2 separate regions of the Homo sapiens genome follow, and region 1 is linked to region 2. Evidence: promoter capture Hi-C in human tissues and cell types (Jung and others, 2019). All regions are on one chromosome and are shown on one strand. The core of a region is centred on a gene start or on the middle of the fragment in contact, and the rest is flanking DNA. Distances in the headings are between cores, read along the strand shown. Region 1 overlaps OBI1-AS1 (OBI1 antisense RNA 1). Region 2 holds the start of POU4F1 (POU class 4 homeobox 1).

Region 1 (3,434 bases), core at 213-2,712, 39 kb after region 2:
TCAGCCTAACTTGATGAAACTTTGATGTTTATTTGATGGTGCAGAGGTCTTTCCTAGTCCTGTCTTTCCGGATAGTTGGGCTTGCAGGATACATGACCTCTGAGCAAGTGCTATGCTGCAGGAAATTAGTACACACTTATTTAAATTGTCAATCTCACTTTTTAAAAAAAATTTAGGCCGAACGTTTTTCTTGTTTCTTTTACATAACACTGGACCTCAACTTAGTTATTAGATTCCATGCAATCAAACTATCGTTCACAAATTTATCTCAATTTGATATTACTATCAGACATGCTCCCATTTAAACATTATTTTGGCCTCTGACTATGAATAAATGCAGTATTTAATGCACGTAAATATTTTATGATTAACTTTGGTTACTTGTATCATCTCAGTTCACTCTATAAATTCAGTCAGAGAAGAAATATTTTAGGCAAAATACTCAGCCTGAGATGTGAACAGAAATAACTTAAAATGGTTCTTTTGTACTATATAATGCAAATGTAACCTAGTTAAGATTTAAGAAATCAATAAACATCTTGAATTCAGGCAGAGTGTTAATACATCATGTTATGTTGTGGGATAATATTAGGTCTAATATACTTTGCCATTTCCAGTAATTCCTCCCTGGACTCCTCAGAAGGAGCTCCGTTATTCTAGTCTGATGGGTGGACCCTTTTGGGAAGCAGTATTGTAGTTGGCTAGTAGCCAGTTGTATTTCCTCAAACATCTTCCAACCCTCAAAAGCATTTTTCAAATTAGCTACGAAGTAAATAAAACCTGGTTGTCCGTCATTCTATGAGAAGCTGTCTTTTCAAGGAACACTTTGGGCCTTCCTTTCTTTTTTCAATCTTGATATTGATTTGCGTATTATTGAATTCTAATAATGATAGGCTTAGAGGTAGTTGAGCTTCCCTGGTAACTAGCTGGACATTTCCTTAGTTGTTATTAGCAAATGATATAAGTACACAAAAAACACTACAGTAAAACCTCAAAAAGCTGTAATGTTAAGAGAGTGGTTAATTGATTTAACCTGTGAGAAAAGCAGAACTCCTCCTCTCCTCAAAATGTATTTCTGGCTGTTTACCATTGTGTTTAAAATATTTTGTATAAATTTCCCATTTATAATAAATGTACAATAGGCATATACAGTACATATATTGCATATAATATAACAGATATAACAGACATAATAAGCTTGCCTATTCAGATCTTTGTTCAGCCTAAACATAAATTTGTAATAAATTTCTGTGGAACAATTGACTGACTGAATAAATGGGAAATAGAGGTAATAATACAGCTGACTTTGTACTGCTCTGAGAGCAGTGTGGACGTGTTTTAATTTGTTTTAAAGTTAGATCTCTGTTATCTTATTGTTTGCTTTTATCTTTCCAATATAAATGGAGATCAGGAAAAAATAAGGTTGATTGACTTGTTAGTTATTTGGGTTTATATATTAGTAACCAAGATTAGAGATTGGAATCATAATGGTCTGGGTTTGGATTACAGCTTTGCCACCTACTGTATAAGCTTGAATAAGTTGCTTAACCTTTCGGAGCTTTCTTTTTTTTAAAATTTATTTTTTATTTTATATTCTTGAGAATGAAAGAAAAAAGATGAGGCTCAACATGATTGAGACTTCTTTTACTATTGTTAAGATGGAGATAAAAAATAGTACCTACCAATAATTATTCTTGTAACGACTAAATGAGGCAATGGAATTAGAGGTCTTAGCCGGGTTCTGTCTATAACAAGACATCCATTATTGTCATTCTGCTCAATAGAATTCAGTGGGCTTTGTTTCCCTGTTCTATTTCCTTCTTTTTTGAACATTGGCTCTGATCCTGCTAAAGTCTGCCAGCTAGCTAGTGTTCCTCTTCTCTGTGTCAGATCCAGGTGAACTTCTGAGCTCCTTCCACTATATCCCACACTTCCTTTAGAAAAAATATTGATTGGAGAGACCAGCTTGATTTAAATCATTCTAGTAACTCGGGAACTTGGCACAAAAGTAGTTTTCCAGGTGGCAAAGGGGTACAGGTATGGAATTACATGCATTCCTCCCACTATAGTTTACTTTTACACTCTGATTCTGACAGAAAAATGGAGAAAAAATTTGATGATATCTTTCTTACAATTAATTCTACAGAATCAATGTGCCATTGTTTGCATTTTCAGTTTTTTTCTCCAGATTAAGTTATCCAATTTCTCAGGAATTCTATTTCTAATTCCCCATCAGCCCTTCCCTCCCACAGGTTTCCTCTCCAGCTAAAGATACTAGAGTTCTACATATCTGAGTAACTTCTATGGTAAGGGAGGATTGTGTGCTGTCCACAAACACAGTGATTTAAATGAGGTTAAGTCTATTACAGACTTCATCATGAGCAAGGAAAACAAACCAAAGATGTTAAACATATGATCCACAACACAGGTACCATATTTCTTTAATCTGTTCTTAGTTACACCACATACATCAAAGCTAGGACACAGGAGGACTGGCCAAGATGCTCAGCTCTTTCTATTGCTGGGAGTTCTGCATGGCTCCTTGGTGATCAGAGAGGTAAACCATTTCCTTACCTTCTATCTTCACAACTTATAATACTACTAGGATCATAGCCTGTTCCATTAGGGTTTACGTACTCCAGTTTCCTGAGGTGATATCCTGACGTGTATGAGAAATGGCAGTACAGTAAGCATCACATTCACAAAAAAATGGATTTTGAAGTAAAAATACTGGGTATGCATATTAACTCATACATATTAGTTTCCACTGCCTCATCTTTTTTTCTCTTATCCTTTGCCTCATGTGCATGATGGCTTGAAGGGAGGGAGGAAATGTGGCTACAATAGCACTTGCCTTATAGGATTGTGAGAATTAAATAAAACAATGCTTAGGTACATTGAGTTCATCCACCCATCTATGCATTTATCCACCCATCCATCCATCCTCTATTTATTCAGTCAATATTTCTGTGAACCCACCATGTGCCAGGCACTGTGTATAGTGCCCTAAGGTAGAGAATGACAGGTAGGCAGCACAGTTTCCTTTCCCCTGGCCTTGTATTATGGTAATTAAACTCCAAAGGTATAGCCAGAGAAATGAAGCTTTGATCCAGGAATAAGGTACAAAGTTCAAACCAGAATCTCGCTTGTCTGCCCTGCCCCATGGCTCTGACAGCCCTGAGCAGAGTTGACAAGCCTTCCCCGTTTTATTCACAGGAATTGAAAGTTTCATGTGTTATTAAAATTCCTCCCTCCCTGCAAACCATCATCCACAGGAGGCAAAGGAAGGAAGTGAAATTGAAAGGTCCATCAGCAGATCTTCTGACGTTTACCCAGGGGGTGAGACTGGGGAAATAAGCATGTGACCCCTCCGTCAGTTGCTACTCCTGGGGGAGGAGCTGTGCAAAAGCGTGAAGCTTTTAGACACATCTGGC
Region 2 (3,493 bases), core at 892-3,391:
CACCTGGCTCTCAGAGGCCCCACCCGGCCGCAAACCTGTACTGTTTACCTTTCTGTTGCTCCTGTACCCTTCAGGGTCCCTAAAGACCAGCGCTTCCTTGAGAGGGGAGGGGCAGGTTCCAGGCCCTCACCCTCTGTGGGGGCCTTTTCTTTCCCGTCAAGAGAGAGCGCAGGGAACGGCCACCAGGGGTGTCAGGAAGGACTAGGTTAAGCCCGGACTCCCGGTGTGATGACTACCGTAGGACTCACTCTTTCCCTCTAGCGACGTCCTGCTCATCGTCCACTCCCCGTTGAGATAAAGTTGCATTTAGCGCTCCCAGGGGACTGCGTAATGGATGGAACCAGCTCCTTCTCTCACCAGCAAGTGAACATCCTTCTCACTTCCCTCTGGAGCTAGAAGGAAGGGAGGGGGTGGGGGGGAACATGAAAAGAAAGAAAGAAAAAGCCATGGTGACGCCTGTGGGCTCTTCTTGGAATCTGAGTAGGTGAGTGGGTATGCTAAACACACATGCATTTGTGCAGAGGAAAGATAAAATCCACGGGAACGCAAATTTAGGTTTATAGAAATGAGATCTGCTCTTTGGTGGAAATACAGACTTCCTTGGTGTGGGAGAGAACAGAAAGATTATCTGATTTCTGCTTTCCATAAGCAGCCCCTTGCTGCTCTCCAGCTCTCTTACCGCAGATGTGATAACATCTGGGCTGTTAGGTTATTATCACCGCGAGCAAGTGCTCCTTCCCTGGGGACTTTGGCACCTGAACTGTGGCTCCCCTGGGAGGCTCTTGATCTGCTACCACATAAGGGCCATATAACAGGTTGGCTAATTGATTTATTCTTTTTAGGTCTTAATTTCACAATAATTTTTTAAAAATTTAAAAACTGGACCAGAGCTTGTCCCCGTTCTTTCAAATTGGCTTGATTTAATATTTTTGAATCAAGCTTTCCTGTAAGTTAGTTTGATCTGTCTCCTATTGAAAAAAATATATATAAGCAGGCAGAGATATGAGGCAAAAAGCCAAAAAGATGGAAGGGAAAAGAAAGTTCTCTTTTCAACATCTTATTCCCTTTTCTCTGAAGCAGTTTTCCTGGAGTTCCCAGCATAAAGTGTGTGTGTGTGTGTGTGTGTGTGTGTGTGTGTGTGTACGCTGAGGGGAGGAAGGATCCCAACTACACCCTGTTAACTGTTTTTTCCTTTTGATTACTAGAAGCCTTAGATCACCCGGAGCTCGTTTGAAACGTGGGTTTGTACACGGTTGAAGGAGACAAACAATAAGAGAAATGCACAATTTCATTTCAACAGCTTTTCCCGAGTAGAAAGCACACGCTCCTTGTGGCTCCTAAGTGGCTGTCACTGGCGGTGCCTGACACAGTTATATTCACAACAACAACAAAAAAGTATGCGGAGGAAATTAAATTATATGGAAATCAATAGCGTCTGACTGCTTCAAACAAATGTCTGTCACCGCGATTATTCTCCAGGAACCTATTTATAAACCTTTAAAGAAACAGGTTCTTGCAGCAAAAGACAGCACCTTCTGCATTTCTGTGTTGTTATTTATACTGTATACAGAGGAATGCGCGGGCATAATTTAACGTAGAAATGTCCAGCTGTATACATTATACAACAGCTTGTTAGGCATCCCGAAGAGGAGGAATGCCTAAGTAATGCTCATATATTCAAGGCTTGCTATCAGGGAGAAGAAACATACACACATACACACACACGCACGCACACACACACACACACACACACATAGAGGGGCGTGCGCGCATCTCGTCTTTTTTATTCTAAAAGGTGCCCACCCTTAGACAATAGCTGGACCTTCTGATCTTTCCAGACCACGGTGGGAAAGGTGAGGCGGGCAGTGCGCATGCCCGGGTAGCTACAGGTGCATCACCTGCGCTGTCCTTGCTGGTGGTCACTATAAGAGCGGCTCCCACGCGCTGGTCGCGGCCGGACGAGCGCGCGCGCGCGCAGACGCACGGGGCCGCCGAGAAGGAGAGCGCGCGTCAGACAGACGGAGACAGCTGATGCCTGTCAGCGCGGTGGGGCCGCGAGCTCTCGCGAGAGCTCCCCGGGACGGCCGCGAGAAGTGGGGCTCAGGTGTTAGAGGAGTGCATCCCGTCGGCGCGCGGGGCTAGAGCTGTCGGAGAAGCGGGACCGCGAGGCCGGCGCGCGGCGCTCTGCGCGGTCAGAGGGAGCGCCTGGCAGCAGCAGGAGCAGCAGCAGCAGCCCGCGGCGGGGCCGCCGCCAGCCGCCGCGACCGCCGCGGCTGCAGCCTCCGAAGGGAGGCCGGGTGAGCCGGCGTACGCACTTTCCCGCGGACTTTCGGAGTGTTTGTGGATATACATGCCAAGCCGCCACGATGATGTCCATGAACAGCAAGCAGCCTCACTTTGCCATGCATCCCACCCTCCCTGAGCACAAGTACCCGTCGCTGCACTCCAGCTCCGAGGCCATCCGGCGGGCCTGCCTGCCCACGCCGCCGGTAAGCGCCCCACGCCCGCGGCCCCGGCCCGCGCGCCCGCCCCTCCCCGTCTCCGAAACGCTGCATGTCGGGGGCTGGTGTGTGCAGGTCCCGGTGCGGGGAACTGCGGGCAGGGGGTGTAGAGCAGTCCCGCAGCGAGGCACGTTTTGTCCGGCGGCCCTTAATGTCGTGTTCCTGTCTGCCTCTGCCTCCGCGTCAGGCGCCTGCGATCGGAGTAGGGAGCGCTGGGGCCAGGACTCTCGACTTCCCTCTACTTTCTCTGTTAATTTCACGCCTCAGAAAGGCAGTCTCTGTGCGTGCTCGGGTGTGTGACACGGGTCCCCAGCTGCGAGTTACATTTCCATTTCTTCTTTTCCCTCTTTTTCGTCTCCCACGCCCGTTTCCGGAATGTGTTCTTGTGTCCCCCTTTCTCCCTACTTCTGTCCCCCTCTCCACGCTCCCATCCCTTCTCGTCTGCCCCCTCCCTGGTCGTCAATGTGCCCCCTCTCCGTCTTTCCCGCTCTCCACTGCCCCCAAACCCGTTGTTATTTTGGTTGCTTTGTGTTTGCCCTTCGCATGCTGTGCTTTCCGGCCTGTGTGTGTGTTTCTTCTGTTGTTTTGTTTTGCTCTTTTGGTTTTGTGGTTTTTTTGGTTTGGTTTGTGTCGCCTGCAGCTGCAGAGCAACCTCTTCGCCAGCCTGGACGAGACGCTGCTGGCGCGGGCCGAGGCGCTGGCGGCCGTGGACATCGCCGTGTCCCAGGGCAAGAGCCATCCTTTCAAGCCGGACGCCACGTACCACACGATGAACAGCGTGCCGTGCACGTCCACTTCCACGGTGCCTCTGGCGCACCACCACCACCACCACCACCACCACCAGGCGCTCGAACCCGGCGATCTGCTGGACCACATCTCCTCGCCGTCGCTCGCGCTCATGGCCGGCGCGGGCGGCGCGGGCGCGGCGGCCGGCGGCGGCGGCGCCCACGACGGCCCGGGGGGCGGTGGCGGCCCGGGCGGCGGCGGCGGCC

Evidence for each region. Contacts are between HindIII fragments. The study calls those that stand out against the background at their distance.
Region 1: a fragment that was not itself captured here is called in contact with the fragment with the promoter of POU4F1 in region 2 in 1 of the 25 tissues and cell types used here (aorta).

Annotation. Positions count from the first base shown.
Region 1 is chr13:78,562,365-78,565,798 of GRCh38, reverse strand. The region is part of intron 3 of OBI1-AS1 (OBI1 antisense RNA 1); the gene reads right to left. Among named protein-coding and RNA genes, the nearest start is that of POU4F1, 39 kb to the left of the region's middle. The HindIII fragment of the contact is 3,594 bases long and covers 1-3,259 here.
Region 2 is chr13:78,602,200-78,605,692 of GRCh38, reverse strand. POU4F1 (POU class 4 homeobox 1) reads left to right here and starts at 2,141. Exons shown (of 2, transcript NM_006237.4): 1 at 2,141-2,489; 2 at 3,142-3,493. The coding sequence starts at 2,367. It overlaps OBI1-AS1 (OBI1 antisense RNA 1), which reads right to left. Exons shown (of 6, transcript NR_047001.1): 4 at 249-392. RefSeq lists a silencer at 2,191-2,350. The HindIII fragment of the contact is 11,230 bases long and covers 1-3,493 here.